Linked DNA regions of Homo sapiens: region 1 is linked to region 2. The links are contacts of gene promoters, found by promoter capture Hi-C in blood cells and fetal thymus (Javierre and others, 2016). All regions are on one chromosome and are shown on one strand. The core of a region is centred on a gene start or on the middle of the fragment in contact, and the rest is flanking DNA. Distances in the headings are between cores, read along the strand shown. Region 1 overlaps COPS8 (COP9 signalosome subunit 8). Region 2 holds the start of RPL37A (ribosomal protein L37a).

Region 1 (5,753 bases), core at 3,102-5,601, about 21 Mb before region 2:
TACATTTCTTACACTTCCTCTTGGATGAAAAATCTCAGATAATGAAAATTACAAAGATGGAAAAAGGTTACTAAACACAAGGCTCTAACCCTAAGAAAATGCAGTATGTTTATGCAATGGGGATATAAATTTTACTTATCTTATTTCATTTACAAATGCTGGAATCAAAGGAGCAGAAAACTGATTTGCGTAATCAGCTGTCCTTTTCAAAAACGTCTCTAATACAGGACCACACCTGGGAGTTACAGAACAAATCTTGTAACTGGAGCATTCTTCCAAGTCTGCATCAAACTCTTGACTGAATTAAGGTTCAAAATCCTAAATTCCCACCTTGAAAGAATGACTCTAAGAAGGGACTGCCAAACAATACCAGCAACGAAAACTTTCCTGAAAGTGGCATTTAGGATTGTCCCCAGGCTTCCATACCCAATTAAATAAACTCAGGAGTACGGTAGAGTTGAGCACTGTGAAACCAGCTGGCCTTTCTCCCTGGGCATTGCTCATTGGTAATGCAAGAGCTCCTCCACCTGGTGGTCAACATGCTTAGGAAATATTCTGGATTTTACTTTCCATATTTAATAGGCCAGTGTACATATGTAAAACAAACACCCTAACATATTTAAAATCTTCTCTCCATTCCTGGGACATTGTCAAACTACACCAATTCCCCCAGATACCCTTTGTGCCAAACGAGTCCACTGGCTCTCAGACAAGTCTTACACCTTCTCCCCCTGGGGCTTTTGGTTTATGCTATCCCGTGGCCTGAAATGCCCTCCTGTCTGCTCTCTACCATTCCTAAGTCTGTTTATAATTCATTACGATCTCTGCCCTTCTCTAAACTCAGCAGTATTGTTTACACTTCTACTTTAACAAGCAACTTTCCACTACGGCAGACACTGTTCCACCTATCCCCTTCTTTTCAATTATATTCCAAACTTCTCGACAGGAAGGGGTATCTCTTATCCTCAAAGTCCCCCAAACACCTAGCATCTCCAGTGAAATATATGCCAAATACATGCTTGTTGATGGCATCACGAGGACCAAAATGGGGCACGACTCCAACACTTAGGCTTTGTTTTCTCAGATTCCTTAAAAACTGCCGACACTCCCATCCCTTCCCCTCATCTGAGCCCGACATCCTCTCCAGCTTTCACTCAGCCACTGTCTGCTCTTCCTTCTGTGGCTTTACACTTATTATTGTAGGTTCCTTCCTTCCTTCAACCAGCCTGTAACCTAACAGACTTTGCAATACCAAGAAACGTTTTCTATTAAGGCTGCATACATTCAATGGAAAAGAACTGAGCCAACAATGGAAAAGAGCCAACAATGGAAAGTATACTTTTTTTTTTTAGAGAAGTAAAAGTATACACCATAAAACTATATTCATTTGGTAAGTCAACTGTATTTCAAAAACATTTACTTCAGTTCAAATATTCTGGCCATATTTTCAGAGTGGGGAATAAAACAGGAATACAGTAAGAATGGAGGAGATAAAAGGGAGAGAAAAGTAAAAAGATATCACTGGAAAAGGAAAGAAAAACATGTGATGGGAGAAGTGAGTTGACAAAGCAAAAATAAAGGCTAAGTGTTCTCTGTCTCAGAAGCTGCAATATCCACTTGGCACGAATCACATCTACATTCCGACTAGTCACTCTGTGATCCTCAAGTTGTGAAATCTGTAACCTCAGGCCCTAGAATGACACGCTGGAAGGTGGAATAAATTGAGCCAGCACCTAATATCTGTGGCAGTAGTTGATGGAACACATTTTTGGTGAAAACAAATGCTAACAGAATGCAAACTCAGTTGTTCAACAAATACTCAAGTGCTGCTCATCCATCACTGCCAGTGCTGGAGACAGAAGGGAAGATGAACTAGTCACTCCCATCCTTTCGAATCCTCTTCTGTCTTTCCCAGCCATGCTGTGTGCCAGGGAGGTTGGCCGCCAATGCCTGTTGCACCTGAGCTCTCTTGCTTTGGCGAATTGGGGCTCTATCAGGTCAGAGGCTGGGAAGGAAGGTCAGGGAATTCACTTCCTATGCCCTTTCCCTGCCTTGCTCCAGCTGACCTTCTGTATCCATCCTGTGGGGCAGCCCCAGTAACACTGGCCCCTCGCCTTGCCCTTTCAAGCCTCAGATGAGAATGGCTACTGTCTACCTAGTTTCTAAGTACTTCCTCAGCCCTTGTTTCCTGCAAAAATAGTTTTCACTAGCTTCTCTTAAGTCATTTTCAGTTTTCTAATAGGACTGTGCCTAATTTAGAAGAGAATGGAAAGAGATCTAAGAAAGTGATTGTTCTCAACTAGAAAATAAGTTTCTAATAAGTTAAGAAGCAAAATGTTAAATTCATCAGTAAGACCAATCTGTTAAGAGACTATCCTGACCTGGCTGCATTTTACAAAGGAAACCACAGTACCATTCATGAATCTGGAGATTTGTAAAAGTCTCAGGATATGTTCAGGAATACTGTAGTGCTTTAGAATAAGGTACATGTTTATATATTAACTCATTTACAACCTGAAAAAGTACTATTTCTAATCACATTTCACAAATGAGGAAAATAAGACACTGAGGAGTCACCCTAGTAAGTGACAGAATCAGAATTTGAACTCCGGAAGCAAGGACCCAGAGCTTAAACTCCCGCATGGTACGCTATATAGCCTTTCCTGGGTCTACTGAACTGCTTGCCAGGAATTCTCAATCTCATGGAATTCAGTGAGAGGCGGCTCCGGGAAGGAATAAAACTACGGACCCGACGGTGCACAAGAGAATGCTTGCTGAACGAGTAAGGAGTTCCCAAGCCCAGTCCTGCCAATCAACCCGCTGTAAAACACTGGGAAAAGGCACATGGCCTGTGACCGCCCCACCACAATCACAAGGCTGAATCACGAGGATACTATGGAAGTCCACTATAACGCTAATTCCTCAGGGCTTATATGAAGAGGTTTCTGGTGCTACTTTCTGAAACTGCCCCTGCTGTACCTGTGCAATCTTCTTCCACACTCCTCCCTTCCCATCTATCTGCCTGCCTTAGGACTCTGCTCATTTCATTCACATTTAAAGTAGCTGCCTCCTGTTCTGTCACTTACATTGTTATGTTTTATGCTGCTAAGAATTTTACCATTCCAAGGGAATTATGTGCATTTCAGAAACAATCTCTGCTGTCTGCTGCCCTGTAAAGCTGATATCCCTTAGCAGAGTGATGAACAGTTATTAAAAAAATTCCTGCTCACTGACTTCCTCCACAGCAGGAAGGCATACAGTGAAGGTGGATATTAACTATGGAAGTAAGGGTAACAATAAGAAATAACAGTACATGACAACATAAAACAAGATTATATAATTTTATAAAGAGTGAACCAGGAGGACTGGAAGCAAATGCTAGGGGTGAGAGACTGTAGAGAGGCAGGGAATGAGATTTTATTGTGGGATCAGTGCTCTGTCACACCAGGCTTGTAATCTTTCAAAGCAATTAAAAACACATTTGAGCATCTATGTATTAAACTGATAAATTATAAAATCCAGAAGCTTAAGACAACACCTATCAAAGGCTGAGGCTGACAAAATTCAAAGAGCAGTCTCTATTTTCACATCTCTACAAACCCATACCTTAAACTTATTAGAATATTACAAGATCTCGTTTTAATAGCAAAAAAAACTCTTAAAACTGACGAGCAATTTCTGTCTAGAATTAAGAAACAACAAAAGCACAGCAGCCAATGTAATCTCAAGCAACAAAAAATGAAGAAGCATGATTAGGGCAAATCTAAAAAATTCTGAAAACTGCTCTTTTCACCTATCAAAAATATCTACTTAAACACACACCACTGATTTATTACTTCAACACTGCAGCACTTAGGGACTAAGTCTCATCTAATTTCATTTTTAACCACAAAGAAACACTACCTCTAAGTGCTTCCATAATTGGCTGGACCGTCTCAGACCACTGGTGAGCGTTGATGGTTGTATAGATCCCAGGGAAATCTCTCTGCCAGATTCTTTGTCCTACTGACCAAATTCCCCCAAGTTCAGAATTTGCCTGCAATAAATATTATTGCCTTAGAGGGTATTCACTCTGTAAATGCACCAATGATTGTATCTTAAAACAAAATACCAGAAATGATATAAAAACTTGTTAGCTACATCATTAAAACCTAATTCAACATTTATTTTAAAAGATGCAATTACTTTTTCAGCCCAATCACTATCAAAAGGTTTTTAAACACTATGAGCAGTAAGGTAAAATTTATCTGTAGGGCTGATATAAATTTATTACAATAGCAAATTAAGGCATGAGAAAGTAGTCAAAAAACATTTCAGAATTAAGCCTGGGGACTAATTAGCTTAAGGATTGTTTTTAAAGATGTTGTATTTGTATTTCATAGATATATTATGAATATATATTTAGGTCAAAAGTAATAGCAAAATGGTTAACAATAGAGACTCTCAATCTAAGATGTCATACATTGTAGCCTCTCTAAGGATTGAGTTTCCACTAACGCCATTGAAACTTATGTGCATGATTTATAGTACTTCTTTATTTAGCCAAAGAAGCTGAGGAATATTCCAATCTTACTTAACAGAACAGAATGTATGAGGGAAAAAAAAAGAGTAAAAATACTAATCCGATCTCTTGATGAATATCAATAAACAAAAGTTTAGATGAATTCTTGGTAATATCCCGAGAATGTTAAAAATTTCACTTGACACTCATGTTAGACACATGGAATCATTTGACATTAAAATTTTACTTCATTCCACTTTGGAAGAACCTTTTCACAGGCTATTTCTTCTAATCTCCCAACCAAAATAAGAAATTTAAAATCCTAATTAACAAAAATAATCTTATTGCTGTCAATCATTCTTAGAGTATTCTTGTAAACGATGGCAGTTTCAAAATAAGTACCATTATAGGAAGCAACATAAACCAGCTGAAAATCACCTCAGCTGCCTCCGCCACCTCCAGGAGCTTCCTTCATCTAAACTGGCTCAGCTGTTTAACTAGGGAAGCTGCACATAAAAGCGTCTCAAGAAATCTAATCAGTAGGAACTGAGCAGAAATTCTACACCATCCCAGCAAAATTCAAATTTCTGATTAGAGGACTCTGAAGATTTATTTCGAATCCTTAATACCAATCTGATGACTATTACTAGGACGTCAGATAGAAAACATAAGCTTATAAAAGGTTGCCATTTAAGGGAATGTCATTACATTAAAGCAGTAAAATAGGTTTAAAGGATACTTACAGATTTTATAGCAGGTGGTATTCTTTTCCAAAGATATCTTGCATTATTCCTAATTTACGCCACCACAAAGAAGAATAATCAATTAAAAACATAATCATCTCAGGAAATGTTAAAAACTACCAGGTCCCAAGCCAAACATACAGAAGTATACTTCACATAACACAAAGTAAAATTTAGTTTTATATGAATTTGTTTTGGGGAAACAATAGTGGTTTTCCAGATAAAAAGGACATGAAATATTTTTACCAAAGTAATATTTTGCCATTTCTAGTGAATTTTTTAAAAATAATAATCCATATCCTAAATTTAGGCAACAGCACACTAAAAACACGAGGATTTATAGACGGCCCAAATTATTTATTAGGATATAAAAGTAAACAAATTTATGTACTATCAAGGCTGTAGCATTCCCTGACAATAAGCCTGGTACACAACACTTCTCTCCCGATTACAGCCCCTCCTACCAGTGGGACACAGCTTCTGAGGCAGGAGTTTTTATGGGTTTGGAG
Region 2 (5,711 bases), core at 1,271-3,770:
TTACCGTGACAGCGGAAGTGGTACTGGAAAGAAAGATTCAGTTTCCAACATAATTAAGCATGTTAACATAGAAAATGGCAAATAAGTAAATCTGCCTCGTTTTTGTGTTAAAGTCGCTTCCCAAATTTTCCTAGAAAGAATTATACTGAGATAGACTGCTCTACCAATACTTTGCTGCAGTCAATCCAAAGATCTAACCAACATTAGATTACTCCTCGGAAATTAGTGGCTTCTAAACTACATGATGGCATCCTTTAAGAGCCATGCCTTCAGGATCTTGCAGAATTAGACATACAATCTCATGCATCTGATTTCTCAACCAGAGTTGCTTTTTTTTTTATAAGTAACTCAGTTGTGGACAAGCAAGCTTTAACTCCCCCTACCCCATCCCATGAAAAAGAAATGGTTCTAAGAGGCTGACCTAAACTTATTAAAAGGGAATGGACAGATTACAAGAAATGAATAAATTACAAGATGATACAGTGAGAACAATGATTAAGGAAATAAGAGCGGACACTAAAGTGCCTTTGGGAAAGACAGCTATTGAAATGACTACAAAAGTTTTACCATAAAATTCAGGAACTATACCTGAAAATCACCATCCTGTATTGTAAGTATATAAATAATTCACTTTCCTATCAGAACCAAGAAAGCACTCTAGTTCCCATTTTCCATTCTGCCCTAATAAAAACCCCCACAAGGAATATATATATATTTCAACATTTTCCACTGCTTCGGTTTAAGTTTAAATTGACTGAAACTTTAAAATCCAATTCTTTAATTACACTAGCCATATATGTGCTTAGTGTATTGGACAACACAGGTCTAGATGCTAGTTTGTAGTATAGTGTTTGTAGTATCGCCCTGTCAGGTGATACTGAGTTGCAGATTCACAAACCTGCAGCAGTCTAATACTGTTCAGAAAGACGAAACTGTGGTGGTCCTGATGGCCTCAAGTTCCAAATACAGTTTTGAACTAACTGACCCCTTCACCTATTTTTATCAAAACTTGCAGTGCAAATCAACGTTCAGTAGATTCAGCCCCACTAATGGACCTGCACAGTATCATGACAATGTTCACAACAATGTGCCCAGTGACCATCAAATTCTAAAGTAGTCTGTGAATTAGATTTCCGACTTCTATTTTGGTAGTTTTGTGTTTACTCTTTCAATAACTGAAAATAAACCACCACGGAAGAATCCTGAAAATACAAAGGCATCCTTATTCTCTCAGTCCTGAGAAAGTGTTAAAACTAGCCCATCCAGCAGCAACCTGGAATTTGGGCCTATGTGGTCCACACACTTCCAAATACCACAAGGAACTAGACTCACTTGTACGTCCAGGCACCGCCAGCCACTGTCTTCATGCAGGAACCACAGTGCCAGATCCCCACAGCTCGTCTCTTCATCTTGGTCTATAAAAGAGAACCAATTTTCACTATGAACCAAGTAAGTATTTTCTCTTACAAGCATCCAGAAGTCTAAATTTGGATTCACCTTATTGTCAGGGATGTGAAAGCCTCCCTTTCTCCCTCAAAAACAAAACAGGGATTGCTGTAATGCAGTATTTTGCACATAAACGTTCAAACCTTTATCAAACAAAAATCCCTCGCAGAACAAGTAGAATGGTATTAGATGCACAGACATCTTGGGAGTTGGTGCAGAAACATCAGTAGACAAAACTGATGGAATCATTTCCCACAAAGCAGGTTTGGCTTAGGCTGGGGGCACTCTGTCAAATGATTATTTTACCCATTAACGTTTAAGCGGTTTTCTTTAAATGAAAAACGTCTCACAAAATCTGAAGTTACCATCAACACTTTTATCTTAAAACTCATAATCAACGGTATGAGTAATTCCAACTGCCCACCAGCACACGGCTTATAAAATACCTTGAAGTCAGGCCTCACTTGGGTAAGAAACCTGCCCTCCCTCTCCTCTCACCAGAGACTTTGCCTTACTTACTTTGCCACAGAAAGAGCAAGTGTACTTGGCGTGCTGGCTGATTTCAATTTTCTTCACCATTTTCCGGAGGGAGGCCCCATAGCGGGTCCCGTATTTACCGACGATCCCGACTTTCTTGGTACGTTTGGCCTGTTTAGAGTGAAGGGAGAAACCAGTGATAGACCTGGAACCCAGGCAGGCCCTGGAGCCTCCACACACCGTTCCTCCACCTCACTGACGTGTGACCGACATGTGAATTACATATGACCTAGTTTTCCCTAAATTCAACCCAACGAAACCAGTGCCCAGGGCTGGCCGCGCGCTCCGAAGGCCCGGCGTTAACCCGGCTGGAGCGCGCCAGGCCCAGCCAAGGCGCCCCCGCCCCTCCGCCTTGGGGAGCTTCCGACAATGGTGTCTCCTGCAAAGGCATGGAGACAGGAGAGAACACGGGGTAAGGCAGGAGAGGAGATGGGTGCGGGAGAAGAAAACAAGGACAGATGCAGGCAGATAGAGTTCTAGGCCGCACAGAGACCCACACTCACCATGTCGCCGCGACCTAGGTCCGAGCCCAGAAAGGAAGAGACGCGGTGCGCAGGCGCGGTATTAGGCGGACGAGCGGAAGTGGCTGGTAGAGGCCTAGCTAGGAACTGAGCTCTATGGTTTGGGCGTTTTCAGGCGGCCTCCTGAGAAATGTTTGCAATTGTAAGGCGTCTCTCTCATCCAGGTTTACCCAGATTCGCAAACTATGGCGACAAACAACCATAGCAGAAGCATGTCCGGATTATTTCACATATATCACAAAATCCTGCAAAGGTACGAGTTCCTCCATTCGATGCACAGCACTTGGCTTGGAGAAGTGCATAAATCTTACATTTGTGGGGCCGGGCGCGGTGGCTCACGCTTGTGATTCTAACACTTTGGGAGGCGGGGTGGGTCAGGAGTTCGAGACCAGCCTGGCCAGCAGGGTGAAACCCCGTCTCTATTCCAAATCTCATTTATTTCCCCCTCTGCATTATGCTCTCTAAAAGTGGCTGACTGTGCAGGATGCTAGCGACAGTGGTGACTAAAATCCAAGGTTCCATTCCCAGAACAAGTTGCAGGCCAGCTGCAAACGATCATATAGCCACATTAAGAAGTTAGACAGTTTCAAACTGGTCAGAGTTCTGAAGGAAAGGACGATGGTTCTGCTCGCGACTAATTCAGAAGAGCCTGGTGTTTCCTGAGGAAAGTCTGAGATTGGAAGGCTGGGGAAAAGTTAACAGTCACCTTGGAGTTTTGTGTTCCAGCTGCTGCATCTCAGTGCGGATGGCCTGCCTTCCACTTCATTTCAGAACTCACTTCCATGGCCCCACACTAGGCTGTTAAGACAGCTTCCTGGTCCAGGCCTGAACCCTTAAACTCCAACATCTTACCCTTTACCCACCGTCAATTCTCTGTCCCTCCAGGTCTCTCAAAGGGGTCAGCAGGGAAGAATTGGATTTCTGGTTGAGGCCGGGGGTGGGGAGGGTGTGTTCTGGAACTAGACACATGATCTTCTTTCTTCACGTAGAACACACACACTAGGAAGTTTGGTTGCCTTTTTTCAGGGGATGGCTAATCCAGAGAATAAGAAGCTCAGAAAACTACTGGAATAAGAGTGTAAGAGAGAATCCATGATTAGAGGGCCAAGAAAGACCATGGGAGCTGAAAGGCATTGTGTGGCCCTGATTCCAATCAGAAGTCCGGTAACAAGTAGCTTCCGTTCCCAAAGCTTAATATTAACTGTCTCAAATAATTTTGCACCTGTTCACTTTTCCTCACAATTGTATTAAAGTCAACTTGCATACCTGGGCTGAGGTGGGAAGATCATTTGAGCCTGGGAGGTTGAGGCTGCAGTAAGCTGTCATCACGCCACTGCAGTCCAGCCTGGACAACAGAGTGAGACTCTGTCTCAAAAAATATATATGAATCAAATCAAATCAAAGCAACTTGCAAACAGCTATGTACTTCATATGGTTACAATTGTTGGAGGGTAACACATGGTAGGCACTGAGTATTTTATGTGGATGTTCTCATTTAATTTTCCATTATCCTTTATGATAGGAATGATTATTATCTTCATTACTAAGAAAAAGAGAGGAAGTCTCATGTAATGATTAGGAACTTAGAGGCTCTGGATTCAGTATGGGTTCAAAACAGAACTCTGCTATTTACCAGCTGTGGGACCTCTGACAAGTTATTATATACTTTTCTTTCTTTTTTCTTTTTCTTTTTTTTTTTTTTTTTTTTTTTTTTTTGAGACAGAGTCTCTCTTGGAAAAGATTCTTTGAGACCAGGAGTTCTAGGCAGCCTGGACAATATAGCGAGACCCCATCTCCACACACACAAAAAAATAATAGGCCAGGTATGGTGACACACATCTGTGGTTCTAGCTGCTCAAAAGGCTGAAACGTGAGGATTGCTTGAGCCCAGGAGTTCAGAGGTTACAGTGAGCTATGATCACACCATTTCACTCCAACCTGGACAACAGAGTGAGATCCTTTCTCAAAACAAAAACAAAAAAAGAAAGAAAAAAGAAACTCATCTCAGGGAAGTTAAGAAACTTGCTCAATGTCACACAGCAATTAGAACTCAAATCTGGTCTGTCTGATCCCAAAGTTAGTTCTCCTAATTGCTAGCTTGTACTACGCCAAATCATAATATTTAGTGCACTGAAAAAGCACATCAGAAAACATAGTTGAATTAAAATCAGGTCCCTGGCACTCAGTCTGGGCCAGGATCTGTAACTACCTTGTGGTTTGACTTTAGGTAAGCCACAGTCCCCACATGGAGAACCACCTCCCCACCTCCCAGCAGCCACCATCTTTATTTACAAGGAGCTGGACCAGGTGGTCTTCAAGGTCCTGTCCAGTTCTTCCCTCCTATGATTCCAGGAAGAGCTTCCAGACTTTGAGTGCCACTGGGGCAGTGACCCACCATGTGCTTTATGTCAGCACATCTTGCACAATTTTGTGGAATAAAGGTAGTTGTCTCTTTATCCTCCCCAATCTGTTATTCCAGCTCTGGCTGTGTAAATTCAAGGAGGAGAAAAAGCAAAAAGTAGTGGATAGTGGGAATAGTCAAATTGATTTTTGCATACATTTTTTGCATTTTCTAATTATCTTTTATAATGAGCATGTGTTTCTTTTATAATCTAAAAAAACTACCATTAAAAAAAAAACCCCAAACATCTCCAGTAACGACGAGTATACCTACTGCCCCAGATCTCAGGGTTTGTTTTTATTTGTTTTGTTTTGTTTTGAGACAGGGTCTTGCTCTGTTCCCCAGGCTGGTGTGCAGTGGTGTGATCACAGCTCACTATAGCCTTGACCTCCCCAGGCTCAAGCAGTCCTTTCACCACAGTCTCCTGAGTAGTGCCCAAATAATTTTTTTATTTTTGTAGAGACAGTCTTGCCATGTTGCCCAGGCTGGTCTGGAACTCCTGGGTTCAAGCAATCCTCCAGCCTCAGTCTTCCAGAGTGCTGGCATTTCAGGCATGAGCCACCATGCCCAGACCCCAGATCTTGGTTTATAATATCATTCTTTAATAAAAGGAACCAGGGCCCCTTAGAGAAGTGACTCATTCTAGGACTGCAGCAGGAAATATACAAGGCGAGCCTGCAGTATCTTGTGCCAGAAAGTAAGGAAATGTTCAGAAAACCCTACACTGATGGGGATATGTCAGAGAGACACAGGAGTCAACTGAAAGAACTCCGAATGGCCAAAGCTAGAAAATTTTGAGCAATAAA

The links. The method cuts DNA at HindIII sites, captures the fragments that hold promoters and counts their contacts. A CHiCAGO score of 5 or more calls a contact.
Region 1: a fragment that was not itself captured here is called in contact with the fragment with the promoter of RPL37A in region 2 in 1 of 17 cell types (total B cells); the score reaches 6.4 in total B cells.

Annotation. Positions count from the first base shown.
Region 1 is chr2:237,088,145-237,093,897 of GRCh38, reverse strand. It overlaps COPS8 (COP9 signalosome subunit 8), which reads right to left. Exons shown (of 8, transcript NM_006710.5): 3 at 5,245-5,293; 4 at 3,904-4,036. Among named protein-coding and RNA genes, the nearest start is that of COPS8, 5.1 kb to the right of the region's middle. The HindIII fragment of the contact is 1,648 bases long and covers 3,528-5,175 here.
Region 2 is chr2:216,495,653-216,501,363 of GRCh38, reverse strand. RPL37A (ribosomal protein L37a) reads right to left here and starts at 2,520. Exons shown (of 4, transcript NM_000998.5): 1 at 2,487-2,520; 2 at 1,966-2,094; 3 at 1,333-1,415; 4 at 1-23. The coding sequence starts at 2,489. It overlaps RPL37A-DT (RPL37A divergent transcript), which reads left to right and starts at 2,612. Exons shown (of 4, transcript NR_183317.1): 1 at 2,612-2,757. RefSeq lists enhancers at 2,444-2,833, 3,014-3,103 and a silencer at 5,206-5,275. The HindIII fragment of the contact is 3,327 bases long and covers 370-3,696 here.